Regions from separate parts of the Homo sapiens genome. Here region 1 is linked to region 2. The links are contacts of gene promoters, found by promoter capture Hi-C in blood cells and fetal thymus (Javierre and others, 2016). All regions are on one chromosome and are shown on one strand. The core of a region is centred on a gene start or on the middle of the fragment in contact, and the rest is flanking DNA. Distances in the headings are between cores, read along the strand shown.

Region 1 (3,392 bases), core at 747-3,246, 160 kb after region 2:
GCCCCCATTCTGAAGATGAAAGAAACCGAGGCTGCCCAGAGAGCCCAATATTTTGCTGAGCTCACACAGGGAGTTAGGAATAGAGGTTTAAAACAGTTTGAGGCCAGGCGCGGTGGCTCACGCCTGTCATCACAACACTGGCAGGCGGAGGCGAGAGGATTGCTTGAGGCTAGGAGTTCGAGACTGCCCTGGCCAACATAGCAAGACCCTATCTAAAAAAAATGGTAACAAAACACAGCTTGGGAATGGGAGCAGGGTTGATGCTTAAGACTCAATTAAGCAACCGTGTCCCTCACCAAGTCTCTTCAGACCCCCACCCCACTAGCTGAGTGCTACTTTAGCAAGCCTCCATTATTCTCTCTGATGGCACACTGCCCTAGGGCTATTTGACTGTGTTTTCATCACCTGTGCTAGATTAGGAGTACCTCAATGATGGAGATAGGGTCTCAATATTTATCATCTCACCTCAGTGTCTACTAAAGTGCCCGGCACATAGAAGACAATAAATGTTTCTTTGTTGAATGATAGAAATTAGGAATCCAGACTTCCAGCCATTTTCTTTTCTCCTTCCTTCCTTCTTTCCTTCCTTCCTCCTCTCTTTCTTTCTTTCTTTTCCTTTTTTTCTTTCTTGTCTTTCCTTTCTTGTCTTTTTCTTTCTTTCTTTCCACAGGGTCTCTTGCTCTGTTGCTCAGGCTACAGTGCATTGGAGCGATCATGGCTTACTGCAGCCTTGACCTCCTGGGCTCAAGCGATCCCTCCACCTCAACCTCATAAGTAGCTGGGACCATAGGTGCGCGCCACCATGTCCAGCTAATTCTCAAAAACATGTTTTTTGTAGAGACAAGTTCTCTCTGTTGCCCAGGCTGGTCTCAAGCTCCTAGGCTCAAGTGATCCTCATGCCTCAGGTCTCCCAAAGTGCTGGGATTACAGGTGTGAGCCACCATGCCCGTTCATCCCTTTTTCAAGTCAAGTGCTGCCTTATCTACCCATCCACCTACACACCTGGCTTAGAAGCACCCCATTCAGGGCGAGGTCTTTCTATTGCCACCCATCCTTGGTGCTGGGCTTTGCACTTAAGAGGGGCTTTCAAAAATAGACACAAAGGGTGAGGGGCCATCTTTGGCTCGCCTGGCCAGGGACAGGATCAAGCTGCCCAGTTACAAATCTGTTATGTATATTCTGTGCCCTGGTGCCCTTCTTCCAAATCAAAATATAGCAGGCAGTGCAAACATTTATGCAAATGAGCCAGGAGCCCTCCTGCTTTCAAAAATAAATGATGGAGCCCGTATCAGTAGTTGCAGTGTGTCTTGGCAGTGTTTAGAAGGGGCCCTGTCCACCCCTTGCTAGTTCTCTTGGGAAGCCCAGCACAGTGAGAAGCAGTGTATCTTACCCCCCTCATTTCCCCCTCCCCTCCAATACTACAAACAGCCACAAACCACATGGCCCACAAGCAACTGAGATTTGTGGCCTTTGGAACCTCCCAGGGCAGGGGTCAGTCAGCAGGTCAAAGCGGGTGTAGGCATCACACAGTCCAGAGTCATTACTCTAATGCCCTCTGGGAGAGTTTCAAATCAATGGGCCTATTTGTCCTCCCTCCAGGGAGGACTGGGGGTAGGGCAGCGGGGGTCCATTATCAAGCCCATCCCCACAACACTGCCTCCAAGAAGCTCACCCTTAGCCTGGCATCCTGAAAACCTCACTGCTACCCAGAAGACAGAAACCGGAAGTGGGATGATGTCTGTGGGGATGGGCAGATAGGATGTCTCCTTTGCATTCTAGGTTAGGAATCTAGGAGTCTGGACTTTTATGTGGGAGTCTCTGTGGCATTTACAAAGCCAGCAGGGTGACTTTGGGCGCCTGTTGACCTCTCTACATTTTGGCAAATAGCCAGTTTCCAGCAAGACCATGCCCTGACCCAGTTGTCTCTGTTGCTTCTGGGAGAGTTTTAGAATCACTCTTTGTGGGAAAGAGGTTGGGTAGTATAGTGATTAGAGAGCTGGACTTGGGCATTGGCCAGACCTGGATTCCAAACCCAGCTCTGCCACTAACCAGCTGTGTGACCTCTTCAAGTTACCTTCTCTGAACCATAGTTGCCTTATCTGTTGAACGGGGATAATAATAGTACCTACCATATAAGACTGTTATTGGGATTAGTGTGCTATGTACTTGGCAGTTTGTGAGGGTTCAATAAATAGTAGTTGTGGTGGCCATTCTTACTAGGTTTGGTTGCAGGCAAGTGCTATTCTGCTGGTCCCTGTCAAGCCTGAGGCCCTTCTCGGCTCAAATCCCTCCCTAAGATACTGGAGAGATGGAATTCTTTCTGTCACCCCTCCCCTCCCAGCATTTGGGTCTTTTGTTCTGGGATTGGCCAGGGCTATGCCTAAAGTGCACCAAGTGTGGCTCTGGCCACAGGCATATCCCCTGAGGGGACTTAGCCTTGTTGACTAAAATGGTATTAAGTGGTCAGCGGGTGGCGAGGGGGAGACTCAGGGGAACAGTACCTCCGAAGACTCTAAAATGCATACACATGGTATCTAGGGCCAGGCTAGTGCCATGGCTCTAGACCCTAGCTAAGAGTGCATTTACAGAGGCTGCTTTGAGAATGTTTTGTGAATGTTTTGGCTGATTTACTGGATAACCTTCATCTTCAATGGCCTTGTTTAAATTTTACCACGGTATGGAATGGGAAGGAGCTCACTTTCCATTCCAACTTTTGGTGGCAGGAGTTGGTAGGATGGGAAGGGCAGCTCGCTAAGTGCTGGACAACATGGCCCAAAAACAATCTGGTTCAGCCAGAAGTTCACGAATACATAGGCCAGCTCTGCTTTTGCAGGGCACCTTCATCCCACTTTTGGATTCATCCTTACTGTTGAGTTTGAACTGCTAAAGGGAGAGAGACTGGGTCTCTCCTATCAGACCTGGAGCTCCCTGAGGTTGGAGATCTTGTCAACCCCACTGTACCGGGAACCTTCCGACGGCGGGGGCCGAGTCTCCTCCCTTTGGCTGGCCGTTCTCCAGCCTGGGAACCGAAAAAGCTGCCTCCGCCCCCGGAGCATGTCCCCCACCCATGCCCGGTGCATTCCTTGGTATTCGAAGCACCCGGAGGCTCAGCACCCGCGGCGGAGCGATTGGCGCCAGCGAGGCCCGGAAGGATGCTTCGGGGCCCGAACTCCCCAGACCTCCGGCTGGGCAGGGGAGGGGGAAGCTGCCGGCTGCCCGAGGAGGGAGGGGCCACGTGGTTGTGGGGAGCTGCAGAGGGGTGCCCCCGGGTCCGTCCAGGCCCTTTTGTCTGTCCCCTGCGCCGAAGCCCCCTCCCCAAAGTGGGCTGGCTGCCGGGGAGGAGGGAGGCCCCGGTGGGCGTGGGGGGGTGGTGCGGAGGGGAAGGGGAGAGT
Region 2 (3,221 bases), core at 173-2,672:
CACGTGGAACTATACAGAGTAACAATTCCCAGCGCACTCTCTCCAGAGCCTCCTATCAGCAGACCCACGTAGGCGGCGGTATTGATGTTGAGGCAGGTCAGAGAGGGCAAAGGGGAGATAGAAGGGGAGCGTGCCTGAGTGGCTTTCAAGTGGGCGCGTGGAGCAGAGCAGCCTGGCTTTGGACAGGGGAAGAAAGGTAGGCATGGGCTTTCTTCCAGCACCCGAACTCTGGCTCTCTTTGCACTTGCTGGGCCAGCCCCTCTCCCCCTAGCCCTTCCCCTGACTCATATCTTGCCAGCGTCCCCCACCCCAACTTCCCGCAGGAGTCCTAGACTCGACTTCCCTAAGAAGTCGCCGAAACTCTCCAGTCACCCCAGGTGTTACGCCCAGGATTCTGCGGAGTCGGGCATATGGTTCCAAAATTGTATCCTCTGGGCATCTCGCGGCCTCACCCGCCGCACGGCCCGCCCTCCCGCTGGGGCCTGCACACCCCAGGAGCTCAATAATGTGGAGCGCAGGGCTTGGCCCAAAGGCGTCAAGCAAGTCTCCACTTGCACGGGCCGAGGGGGCTGGACGAAACCTTCCCGAGTCCGCGGGGAAGGGATTTCTCTGCGGGGCGTTGTATGGGGGCTTCGCACCGGGAAGGGCGCGGAACGAGCAGAGAGCTCGGAGTCTCGCTGGCTAGAAGCAGAGTGGGGAGCGCCCGCCCGGGCCGCGGCGCACGACGCGGGCTCTGCGGGCGCCCTGCCTCGTGGTCCCCCGGGCGCGAGCGAGCCGCGAGGGGAATGAGAGGCCGCGCGGGCCCCTGGCACGGCTCCCCATGCCGTGCTGGCGACCGCGGCGGGCGGGCCGGGGCGGACGGGCGCTGTTTCCACCGAGATGCCTCGTCCCTCCCTCGTTCCCTCCCCCACCCCGCCCGCCCGCAGTCCCTCCCGTCGGTCCCTCCCTCCGGCTCTTCCCTCCCTCCCGCCCTGCCTCCTTCGCGCCCGCCCCATCCGCCGCCTGCGGGGACGTGTGTGTCTCTACTGCATTTCCCCTTTCGCTCGCTCGTTTCGGTGCATGTCTGCGCCGGTTCGCGCCCCCTCCCCGGGCGCCCCTGCCGCCCCGTGTCTTGGCCCGGCCCTCCCCGGCGTCCGCCCCGCTCCCCGCGCGCTCCACCCCGCCCCCCGCCCCGTTTTATCAGGGGCGCCGCCGTCTCACCTGGTATTTGCATCTCTCCCTCCAACTTGCCATTGGCGGCGCGAAGTGTGGGAGAGCCCTGCGCCTCGCCCGCCCGGACCAGCCTGCCCCGGCGCCGAGGTGAGTCACGGGCGCGGGGTGGCGGGGGCAGGCGGGCGGGGAAGAAGGGCGGGCGGGGAGGAGGGCGGGGGACGGCGGCCCCGGCGGCCGCGGGGACCGACCGGGCGCCGCGCTCAACTTCCACTTCTCCTTTCGCCGGCGCCGAGTTCCTGGCGCCGCTCGCCCGGCCCGGCTTCCGAGGGGAGAGGACGGGCTGGCGGGGCTGGGGACCCGCGTCTCGGCCCCCGGAGCGGGGACCACGGAGACAGACCCCGGCCCGGCGACCGAGCTGGGCCCGTGAGCCACTCGGCCTCAGGTACGTCGATGGCGCCGGTTCTTCGAGCCTTGGGGGACGTGGAAAAGTTTGCTTGAGGGCGGAATCGAGAGCGCCGGGGCCCCGGCGTGGGGCTGGGGGCCCAGGGAAGGGCGGGAGAGTCGCGGAGTGTCGCGAGCCGCCCTGGAGTCGCCCCGCCGCGCGTGTGATGGAGAACCCGGGCTCCCGATCCCGGGATGGAAGTGGAATGGATTCCCCGAGTCGGGGAGTCGGGGTAGGGGCCCCTGTTTTCCCTCGCCCCCGGCAGCCTGGGTTCCGTGACGGGGCCGATCATGACAGCGGGCCCCCAGAAGCTGGGCGCCCGAGGGCAGAGGAGGTGGGGCGGACCGCGGCGGAGCTGCTAGATGGATCCGACTGCCCCCGGGGCTTCTGGGGCCAGGGCTTTAGGGTCACACGCACACACGCGCACGCAGACCTATGATGTGGAGAACTGGATCGCCAAAATAGAGACCTCTTGGCAGGGGCCGGAGTTTCCGTGTGAGCCAGCCGCCAGCCTTCCCGCTCCCGCGTTCCCGCTCTCCCCGACTCTCCCGCCTCCGGGTTCCCTCCTGGGCCGCCGCCTAGGGGATTCAGCAGCCGCACCGTGCGGGGTCCCCTCACGCCAGCGCCTTGCTTTGGAGGCTTGAGGGACTGCTGAGGCGGTGACCGCTTTATGAATTCCTGGCTCCTCCACCGCACCCTAACCCTGACTCCCTTTTCTCACCACCGTATGCCTGCACATCACCTTCCTGACCAGAGTCACCTCCTGACCCCTTGGCACCTCGGCTCAGCGAGGTCCTCCTGGGCCGCCCCCGCCCCGCACCATACCCCAGCTGAGGGATTTGATGGCCATTTGATTCCTGCCCCTCATCCCTCGGCCTGTGATAGAGGCCTGTCTGGTCCTGCAGCCTCTTCTGGTTAATGTTTGACAGTTCATTGTGGCTAATTATTTTAATTAGCTCTTAAAGTGGGAAAGAACAGTTAACCTTGGACTTCTCGATTTTGGCCTGGTGGGGCCTCAAATGGGAGGAGTGCTGGGGAGGTGGGGAGGTAGGAGCGGAAGTGAGGTCACCACCCCAGGGCCTGAACCACCACTGCTCAGCCCCAACAGCTGGTGGGCACGCCCATTGGGGACTCACCCCCTGCCAGCTGACCCCTGGCCCGAGTGCCAGGTTGGAGGTGGGTGAAGGGAACAGTTCTAGCTCTTCCCTTTGGGGAGACTTTGGCACTGAAAATGCCCGGGGAACACATATGCCCAGCAAGAATGCCAGTCCTTCCTTGCAGTTAGTTACACTGGGTTTTCCTGGTTATAAAGTGCTTTCTCAACCATTAATTCAGATTCAGTGCATCCAGTACAGGAGCAGCGTAGGGGGAGCTCTCTGGAGTTCAGTGAAGATTATCAGGGAGGACTTCCTATCCCAGCCAGCTGGTGTGAGGAAGAGGCTACCTTGCATCTGGTTGTTTTTGGGGCTGGATTCAGAGCCTGGGATCTCTTGTTGGGGGCAGGGGTGGGGGGGACCATGAAGCAGGCTCCATGCTACCACCCTCACCCAGCCTCTTGCTGTGAGCCGAAGGAGTGGCTTGTTTGCAACTATGTCTGGCATTCCTCCCTGTGCTGCACTGTTTGCTC

The links. Contacts are between HindIII fragments. The CHiCAGO score rates a contact against its expected background, and 5 or more counts as called.
Region 1: a fragment that was not itself captured here is called in contact with the fragment with the promoter of ELF4 in region 2 in 1 of 17 cell types (total CD8 T cells); the score reaches 5.2 in total CD8 T cells.

What each region holds. Positions count from the first base shown.
Region 1 is chrX:129,953,082-129,956,473 of GRCh38, reverse strand. No RefSeq gene overlaps it. Among named protein-coding and RNA genes, the nearest start is that of BCORL1, 28 kb to the left of the region's middle. RefSeq lists an enhancer at 2,896-3,392. The HindIII fragment of the contact is 4,564 bases long and covers 1-3,392 here.
Region 2 is chrX:130,108,698-130,111,918 of GRCh38, reverse strand. It overlaps ELF4 (E74 like ETS transcription factor 4), which reads left to right and starts at 1,422. Exons shown (of 9, transcript NM_001421.4): 1 at 1,422-1,594. It also overlaps a transcript of RAB33A not described here. RefSeq lists silencers at 691-810, 881-930, 941-990, 1,241-1,390, 1,471-1,540. The HindIII fragment of the contact is 7,600 bases long and covers 1-3,221 here.